Linked DNA regions of Homo sapiens: region 1 is linked to region 2. Evidence: promoter capture Hi-C in 16 types of primary human blood cells and fetal thymus (Javierre and others, 2016). All regions are on one chromosome and are shown on one strand. Each heading gives the region's core, a stretch centred on a gene start or on the middle of the fragment in contact. The rest is flanking DNA. Distances are from core to core; before and after follow the strand shown.

Region 1 (4,771 bases), core at 824-3,323, 8.5 Mb before region 2:
CTCACTTCTGCAATAGGTGTCTTGGGGACACAAAGGAATCCCCAAACCCAGGTGCCTCCACGTGTAAACTCCAAATAAAGCTGCTGAAACATCAACACTCCATACGGGAAACAAGGGAAGGCCGCCCCCAAATTTAATTGTTACAGAATTTTTAAAATGTCGATTACAAACACACCATCATTCTGAAAAAAAGAGAAAGAAGAAAGGGGAAGAAAGAAAAAAGAAAAATTCAGGAAAACAGAGAGAAGAAAGTACTCACCCAAATCCCATCGACTAATCGATTTCTGGGACATGACGTGGGAAGCCGTTTATCCTGTACGTGGATGACATTAAACTATGTTCCTGAGCACACCTCCTACTTCACATCTCCATGTCTTCGTCCAGTCTCCTTGGTCTGATTTATGAGTGACATATGTTTCTCGCAGTCTCTAACTTGTCTTTTAATTTGTTTTTTTCACTCTGTAGAAGCTTAAGGTTTTCATGTAATCAGATTTATCATTCTTACATGGCTTGGGGAGACAGTCACACCAAGATTACTAATCTATAATTCCCTTATAACTTTTTCTAATTTTCTTATAGGCTTAACTTTACATTTAGAGCTCTAATCCATCTGAAATTTATTTTCCATATGCTGTAAATTATTTAACTTCAATTCTTCCCAATTTTGTAGCCCATTGACCTAATAATATTAATTTTAAGCCATCCTTTCTACACTGATTTGAAATTGCACCTTTGTCACTCTCTGAATGACCACAAAAATGTGAGTCTGTTTCAGGGCTATCTGCAATACCTCTGTTAGATAACTATTAAAGTTTCTCTTCCTTTGTCTTTTTCAGATGTTAATGGCTAGTTACTCTTCAGATGAACTTAAAAATGGACTTGTCCAAGATTGACCTTGTGTTGGTAATTATTGAAGCTATGTAATACATTAAAGTATTCCTCTAATTTTTTAATATATTTGAAAAAGTCCATGCTAAAAGGTTTTTTTTAAGGATTGATTTGTCAAATCCCTTTGCAAATTCTTTTAAGATTTTGGTCAGAAATGAACTCTATTAATAGATTGAGTGCTGTTTCCGGTCATACCCGGAAGCAGGAGTTCAAGCCGCAGCTGGTAGGGATTGGCGGCTGCTGGCCATCTGAGTTTTATTAAAACTGCTCGCCGCGAAGCCAGTCTTCAGCCAGAATGTCCAGCAGAAACAACAACAAGCTGCCCAGCAACCTGACTGCAGTTACAGAATCTGATGAAGCGAGACCCACCACCCTCCATCTAGGAGTTTCTACAGCAGTATAATCACTACACATCCAATGTGGAGATTTTCAAATTGCAACCATATAAACCCGGTAAAGAACTAGCAGAGCTGGTGGTGTTTATGGCACAGAACGTCCTAAATATGTGCATCTGAATAATAGGAGAGAAAGAGAGAAACTTCAGAAGAGCCTTTGCTTTGTTATAGATTAGTTACTGCTACCCAGGGTATCTAAGTAATTTTCCTCAAGTGGTGAAAGATCTTCTGTCCTGTAATCATACTGTATTGGATCCAGATCTTCGAATGACATTTTGCAAAGCTTTGATCTTGCTGAGAAATAAGAATCTCATCAATCCATCAAGCCTGCTAGAACTCTTCTTTGAACTTCTCTGTTGCCATGATAAGCTTCTGCAAAAGACTTCATACACATATATCGTGACTGATATCAAGAATATAAATGCAAAACACAAGAATAAAGTGGATGTAGTATTGTAAAATTTCATGTATACCATGTTGAGAGATAGCAATGCAACTGCAGCCAAGATGTCTTTAGATGTTATGATTGAACTCTACAGAAGGAACATCTGGAATGATACCAAAACTGTCAATGTTATCACAACTGCATGTTTCTCTTAGGTCACCAAGATATTAGTTGCTGCTTTGACATTCTTTCTTGGAAAAGATGAAGATGAAAAACAGGCCAGTGACTCCGAATCTGAGGATGACGGACCAACAGCAAGAGACCTGCTAGCACAGTATGCTACAGGGAACAAAGTTCCCAAAACAAGAAAAAGTTGGAAAAGGCAATGAAAGTGCTCAAGAAACAAAAGAAGAAGAAAAAACCAGAGGTGTTTAACTTTTTAGCCGTTCACTTGATTCATGATCCCCAAGATTTTGCAGAAAAACTACTAAAGCAGCTTGAGTGCTGTAAGGAGAGGTTGGAAGTGAAGATGATGCTCATGAACCTCATCTCAGATTGGTGGGAATTCATAAGCTCTTCCTCTTCAATTTCTATCACTTTTTGCGAAGGTTTCTGCAGCCCCACCAAAGAGAAGTAACAAAGAACCTTCTGTTTGCTGCACAAGCATCTCATCACCTAGTACACCCAGCGATTATTCAATCATTGCTTATGACTGTGGCCAACAATTTTGTTAACGACAAGAACTCTGGAGAAGCCATGACAATAGGAATCAATGCTGTAAAAGAGACAACAGCTCAGTGTCCTCTGGCCATGACTGAAAAGCTTCTCCAAGACCTGGCTCAGTATAAAACACACAAGGATAATAATGTAATGATGTCTGCTAGAACTTTGATTCGGCTCTTCCGAACACTGAATCCTCAGATGCTGCAGAAGAAATTCTGGGGTAAGCCTACAGAAGCCTCCATAGAAGCAAGAGTACAAGAATATGGAGAATTAGATGCTAAAGGTTACATTCCAGGAGCAGAAGTTCTGGAAGTTGAGAAAGAGGAGAGTGCTGAAAATGATGAAGATGGATGGGAAAGTACCAGTCTCAGTGAGGAGGAGGATGCCGATGGCGAATGGGTTGATGTGCAACACTCTTCCAATGAAGAACAGCAAGAAATTTCCAAGAAGCTGAACACCATGCCCATGGAGGAGCAGAAAGCCAAAACTGCAGCCGTCAGCACCAGTCGAGTTTTAAGTTAGGAAGACTTCCAGAAAATCCGCATGGCGCAAATGAGAAAAGAACTTGACGCTGTCCCCGGGAAATCCCAGAAGAGGAAATATATTGAAATCGACAGTGATGAAGAGCCGAGGGGTGAATTACTTTCTCTTCCGGACATTGAACGCCTTCATAAAAAGCCAAAATCTGACAAAGAGACAAGACTAGCAACTGCAATGGCTGGAAAGACAGACCGAAAAGAATTTGTGAGGAAGAAAACCAAAGTGAATCCATTTTCCAGTTCAAAAAGTAAAGAGAAGAAAAAACAGAAGAACTTTATGATGATGTGGTATAGCCAGAATGTCTGGTCAGAAAATAAGCGTTCCTTCTGAGAAAAACAGTTGGCGCTGCGAGATGCCTTTTGAAAAGAGAAAAAGAATGAAGTAACTTCCCAGAAAGTTTTCCATTCCAAGAAGAATGCTAAGTTTGTGTCATTACTCTGAAAATTGGTAAATCAAGCATGTTTGTTTACATTAAAAAGTCCAGAAGCACTATATTATGAAAACTGCTGAAAATGTGGCAGCAATTTGGTGTTTTTATTTTGGGGACAGCTAATGATGGGAAATGTTAATGTAAATAGTGGTGGTAGTGTAATATCATTTATCATTCATGCAAAAAAAAGTATTGAGTGCCTATTAATTGTCACTGTAGATACAAAATGACTGAGTTGTAACTACCCCTTCACTCAAGGCATTGACAGCTTAGTTGTGGGGGTGGACACAGACGTGTATTTACAGTGCAGTGTAAATAGTTCTCTAGTAGAGGTAGGTCCACATTTCTATGCAGACACTGAGGCCTTATGGACTAACTCTGTGGGGATGGGGGTTATATATTCCTGTAAAACAAAGCAAAACAGGACAATTGTAACAAGAGTAAGAGGTTCTTTCTTGCATATAATAGGCTTACCTGCTGAAAACAGGCCCCTGCTGTACAGATTTTGGGTACATAATTTAGCTCTTTTAGTCAATCCAAAAGATTTAAATGACCCCCGCTTTTTTTTTTTAATGCCATGTAAAGGCTTTTTGGTTAAGACCTCACTTTTAAAATTGCCTTAAGTGTAAATAGTACCTTTGGAATGTATTTAGTTCATCATTTGAGATGCCTTCATACTGGTTTCCTCAACCTTCCTTCACCCTGTATTATTTTCAGCCCACCGTTTGTCTCAATAAAAGGTTTCTAATGCCAAATGATAAAAAAGAAATTGAGGGGATTATTGACATATTTATAGAATTGTTTTCCCAGTCAGGACTACGAGATCCCACTTTGTTCTATTTTCCTTTTAGGTGCTCCTTTCAAAAGGTTTTAAACTTTCAAAAAAAAGTTTTTTATTAATCATGTGCTATTTTATTTTTATTTTTTTGAGACAAGGTCTCATGCTATCACCCAGGCTGGAGTGCAGTGGTACAATCACAGCTCACTGCAGCCTCAGCCTCCCGGGCTCAAGTGATCATCCCACCTCAGCTTTCCCAGTAGGTGGAACTACAGGTGCCTGCAATCATGTCCAGCTATTTTTTTGTGTTTTTTGTAGAGACAGAGTTTTCCTGTGTTGCTCAGGCAAGTCCTGAACTCCTGGTCTTATGGGATCCCCCTGCTTCAGCCTCCCAAACTGCTGGGATTACAGGCATGAGCCACTTTGCCCAGCTTACTATACTCATTTTATTGAAAATAATTAGAAAGTTTCCTTTTCTCTGGTCTTACATAGATGACATTGAAATTACTTTCTTTAAGGAGATGTTATAATTCCCTATGGAAACATTGGGGCCTGATGCTTTTAGGAAGGTCATCTCTGTTTCTATAGGATGTTACTTTTATTTCTTATTTTATGTTGTTTGTCCTCTGTTT
Region 2 (4,796 bases), core at 140-2,639:
CAAACTATGTAACAACCTCGTATATCCGATGATTTTAAAAATGTTTGCTCATTTAAAAGCTACTGTACTTCATAATAAAATAACCTCGTCACTACATAAATACCAGGTTTACCTTCAATTCAAAAACTCTGTATTATATTGGTGTTCAGGGGTCCTCACCAGGAAGGTGCTAGGGAAAGAAAGGAGCAGGTGCACCCGAGGCTCTGCAACACCCACTCCGGTAACCAGAGAACACCAGCAGGCGGAGTCTGGAAAGCGGTTATGGGGCGGGGGTGGTAGGGGCGCCCAGAAAGCCCGCTCCTTCCAGCGCCCAAACACGAACCGTCACCCGTAAGACACACAATACAGACCTCAACTCGCTCAAAAAAACAAAACAAAACAAAAAAAATTAAACCAGGCGAGTTCCTGGGGAGTAGGCTGAGGGATGCAAAGTTGGCGCGCCCAGCCTCCCTGGCGGGGCCTAATCCCCAAACGCCAGTTTCTGTAAACCAAACAACGTTTCCCCCAGTCCCACTTGGCATTTAGTCTTTCCCGGTTCTAGGCCCAATTCTAACTAGATAGGTAGGAAGGGAGAAAGAAGGGGCAATAATTACTCCATTAACCTTCCCAGGAACGCCTCCCCCGGCCCATCGGCTCCCACAGCACCAGAGACGGCGGAAATCCTGCAGCTCACAGCCCAACTGCAACTCTTCAGAGTCGCGTCGCTCCTCATCCGCCCTTCTACACCCCAAACTCTGGACACCGAGAGTTCCACAGAGGGAACGCGGGGAAGAACTATGGCCACCAAGGCCTGTTTCTCTAAGAACTCGACCCAGTGCCCCTAGCACCCAAACCAGAGTCCCCGCTCCGCTTCCTCCGCCCGCAAGGGGTATAGCCGGAGCCACCGGGACGCAGAACAGCCTCCCCGACAGGGCCAGCAGGAGGGGCGAGGAGGCAAGAAGGGAGTCCTGCAATCACCAACGCGTCGCGAGGTGCTCACCCGGGGATCCCGGCGATCAGTCCTGAGGGAGCGGGCGGACTGACCGCCTAGGGCACGGGAAGCCCGGGGCAGGAAGACCCGGGAACCTACAGAGGAGGCGTGGGCCCGTGGCCAGACCCAACAGGGCCGAGTGTCCCGGAGCCGTTACTCTCCCGCCTCTGGGGCGCGCCGCCCTAGGTTGCCAAGGGCTGGGGACGCGCAGGCATTACCTCTACAAGAAGCAGCCTCTCCTGTCAAAGGCAGAGCGACAGTCAGCCCCCACGACCCGCCGCCGGCAGCGGTCGGCCCTCGGAGACCGCAGCAGAGAGGCCCACACGTTTCCTGGCTGCCTCGGCCCCAGTGGCCGCCTTTTCGACCTCAGCTACGCAGCGCCAACCGCCGCAGCCACCGCCATCTTAGGATCTCATTGTGGTGGGAGAAGAGGGGCGGGGGTACTGCAGAGGGGGCAACGCGCGGCGGGACATGCGCCGTCTCCTCGGCAACGGCCGCGCGGGGGCGAGAACTCGCCCGGGCGGGAGCCGCAATGCGAGCTAGACTGGAGTCATGTGACCCGCCGGAGTCTGTGGTGTCGCTTCTGGCTCTTTAAGCCGAAAAGAGATTACACCAACGAATCCGCCCCCACCCGCCCAGGAACTATGTATCCCAGAATGCCAACTAGACCTCGCGTTCTAAACGCCTGCCGGCCACAGGTGGAGGACTACAAATCCCAGCATGCCGTGCGCTTCCGGCGCTGATCGCGGAGCGTGGGGCCCTAGGCCTATGCGGAAGTGCATTGATCCCTCAGCCCGTGGAGAAAGAGCGGAGGCGCTGTGCGGTTTTCCGTGGGGGTGTCAGCTCCGGCCCGTGCCGGAAGAAGGAGCCAAGACCGGGATCGCTTTTTTGCCCCTTCCTCACCCCACATTCGGTCACGAAGAGGTGGAAACAAAAGGACACTTACAATGTAGTCCAACCTCCTGATTTTACATATGAGGGGATTGTTCCACGGAAGTTAAACAATTTGCCAGACGTCATTATGTATCTACTGAGTGAGAGAATCATAAATATTGTTGATAGTTAACGCCACTTTTGGTTAATGTCCCTTTTCCTTAAAAGAGCCAGATGATTTTAATCCAAACTTAATTTCAGTAAATTTTCTCTGAACTATCTTTTTATTTATACTCTCCTGTTACAGCTCTATTAAGATTAATAAATTGGCAGGTCCTCCCTTTAAAAAACAAAAATCAATAAAGTCACAAGGCCTTCAATGTGCCTGACTGGAAAGGTAAAACACCTGTCAGTTTTAGTTGAGTGCAAGGGCATTCTTCTAGTTTTACGCAGTTTATAATTATGGAATAACTTTTTAAGCAAAATAAAGGTAAAAAGAAGAATTGCATTCTGGGTTTCAACAACAAAAACAAATTGTTCCCAAAATAGTAGGTCTGCATCTCAGTACGCAATTCACATAAAGCTCTTCTATCCCACTGCAATCTGCCACCGTAGGTTCAGTCGTGAGTGCATTGATCGTTGGTCAGACACTTTTTCCTCATATTCTGTGTGTGTATCGCTAACTACTGCGGTAGCAAAAATATAGTCCCTGCCCTTGAAGAGCTCATATTTTAGTGAAGGATGCGGAAGTGGAGTGTGATGTAAATAAAGTTTGTGTTGTAAGAAAAAGTGCTGTGGGAGCTCAGAACACAGCAGCTAAACGCTCAGGTGTTTATTGTAGTCCAGAATGCCCTATCCTAATTCCACCACTCCAAGATCCTGGACAAGCGACGTGCCTTTCTGAGCCTTAATTGCCCCATCTATGAAATGAGGGGGAAGGAATGATACTGCCTACCTTGAAAGGATTTTTTAAAAAATGTTCTCAGAGTTTGTTTTATGCCAGGCACACTGTAAAGCACTTCGGCTGTTGTGATTTTCTTGATCCTCACAGTTACCCTGAAGAGGCTGGTTCTGAATCTGACCCGTTTTGGCAATGAAAGATTATATAAATCAAACTTGTAGCAGCTGCAAGTGGTAGAGCCTAAATTTAAACGGAGGTCTATGTGATTCCTTTAAGATTTTTTTTAATTAAATACAACGCATATAAAAACACTAGTATATGTTGAGGCCCGAAATATTAGCTATCATCATTATTTTGCTTTATACATATGTATTATTATTAAACGTATGTAGAAGCTGTTATCATTAAAACAATTCTAATAAATTCAAAAGCGTGAAATTATAATACGTACTAGTCATTATGTTTTCTGAATTTATGAAGCTCCAGAATGTCAATACTATTGTTTATTAGGAGGTAGGAGGAATTTGAGAAATATTTACATTGAAATGTAGAAGCTGTTATCATTAAAACAATTCTAATAAATTCAAAAGCATGAAATTATAATATCTACTAGTCATGATGTTTTCTGAATTTATGAAGCCCCAGAATGTCAATACTATTGTTTGTTGGGAGGTAAGAGGAATTTGAGAAATATTTACATTGAAAAGGGGATCTCAAACTCAAATATGAGCATTACTGATCTTTGTAAGGGAAGAAGGAAAGAAAAAAAACAAGAAGCGATAAAATTATACCTGGCTTTCAGAAATTTAACATCTATTTTTAGAAACAAACTTTATCAGAATGAATCGACTTAGTGTTAATAGTCCGTCACTATGCCAAACAAATGATGTAGACACTGATTGCTGTGGTAATTTAGATTTTTAAAATAGGGATGTTTTGTCTCAGAGATAATGATAGCTCTAGGATTTATAGGTAGGATGAAATTAGGGGCAGCAGTCTGTGGAAATGTAGATAGGAAACAGAAGAATGGCCTCTAAGAGATAAACATTGAAACTGCCTTTCAGTTTTCCACATTCAAGAGAACAACCTAACACATGTATTAAATATGCAGGGGGTGGAAGTTCCAAATTGCAGAATGATGTTCAAGGAAGTGGGATATACCAAGAACACAGATCACACATCCAGAGTAAGCAATGGACAAAAAACAGACTGGCTGAAGTAGAGGATTTATATATGGTAAGTGATGGGGAGGTGGGAGAAGGCAAGGTTTATTACCAGGTTGGGGCCAAACTATAGAAAGTCAACTACTTATCTAAAGAGTGTGGACTTTGTTCTTCAGTTAGTGTGAAACCATTTGAGACTTTGGAAGAGGTCAATGCTGTAATGAAATGGTTATTTGAAGACTTCAATCTAGTGGCAATGTTTTGTAAAGACTAGGAAAAGAAGACAAGGAGAACAGGTGCCAACCTGTCATGAAGTAATGAAGGCTTGGCCTAAGGTAGTAGCAGGATGAATAAAGTAAGGGATTTAAATTTTTATTCACATAAACTAAATCAGTTGTTATGATGTGAAAATACTATTTCTGTTTCTTGATATTTGGTAGGACACTAACCAGGTGGTACTTATAAGATAACACAGCCGGGCACGGTGGCTCATGCCTGTAATCCCAGCACTTTGGGAGGCCGAGGCGCGTGGATCATGATGTCAGGAGTTCGAGACCAGCCTGACCAACATAGTGAAACCCCGTCTCTACTAAAAATACAAAAATTAGCCGGGTGTGATGGCATGTGACTATAATCCCAGCTACTCAGGAGGCTGAGGCAGGAGAATTGCTTGAACCTAGGAGGTGGAGGTTGCAGTGAGCCCAGGTCACACCATTGCATTCCAGCCTGAGCGAGACTCTGTCTCAAAAAAAAAACAAAACACTTGGTGCTATAATGTTTATCTCTTTAATGTATTCTGTATGCTCCTTATCCACAGATGGATTGTAAGCATGTCTGTAACAGAAATCCAGCCGTTTGTACTTTTTAATCTTTGAAAAACAAGTTTTCT

Evidence for each region. Contacts are between HindIII fragments. The CHiCAGO score rates a contact against its expected background, and 5 or more counts as called.
Region 1: a fragment that was not itself captured here is called in contact with the fragment with the promoter of PCM1 in region 2 in 1 of 17 cell types (total CD8 T cells); the score reaches 5.6 in total CD8 T cells.

The regions. Positions count from the first base shown.
Region 1 is chr8:26,377,932-26,382,702 of GRCh38, reverse strand. It overlaps the pseudogene SDAD1P1. Among named protein-coding and RNA genes, the nearest start is that of BNIP3L, 2.7 kb to the left of the region's middle. RefSeq lists an enhancer at 1-1,172. The HindIII fragment of the contact is 838 bases long and covers 1,655-2,492 here.
Region 2 is chr8:17,919,581-17,924,376 of GRCh38, reverse strand. PCM1 (pericentriolar material 1) reads right to left here and starts at 1,389. Exons shown (of 39, transcript NM_006197.4): 1 at 1,189-1,389. LOC124901867 reads left to right here. Exons shown (of 4, transcript XM_047422505.1): 2 at 150-220; 3 at 611-868; 4 at 1,031-3,349. The coding sequence ends at 1,713. RefSeq lists enhancers at 362-421, 1,572-2,021 and silencers at 883-1,177, 3,903-4,197. The HindIII fragment of the contact is 6,694 bases long and covers 1-4,796 here.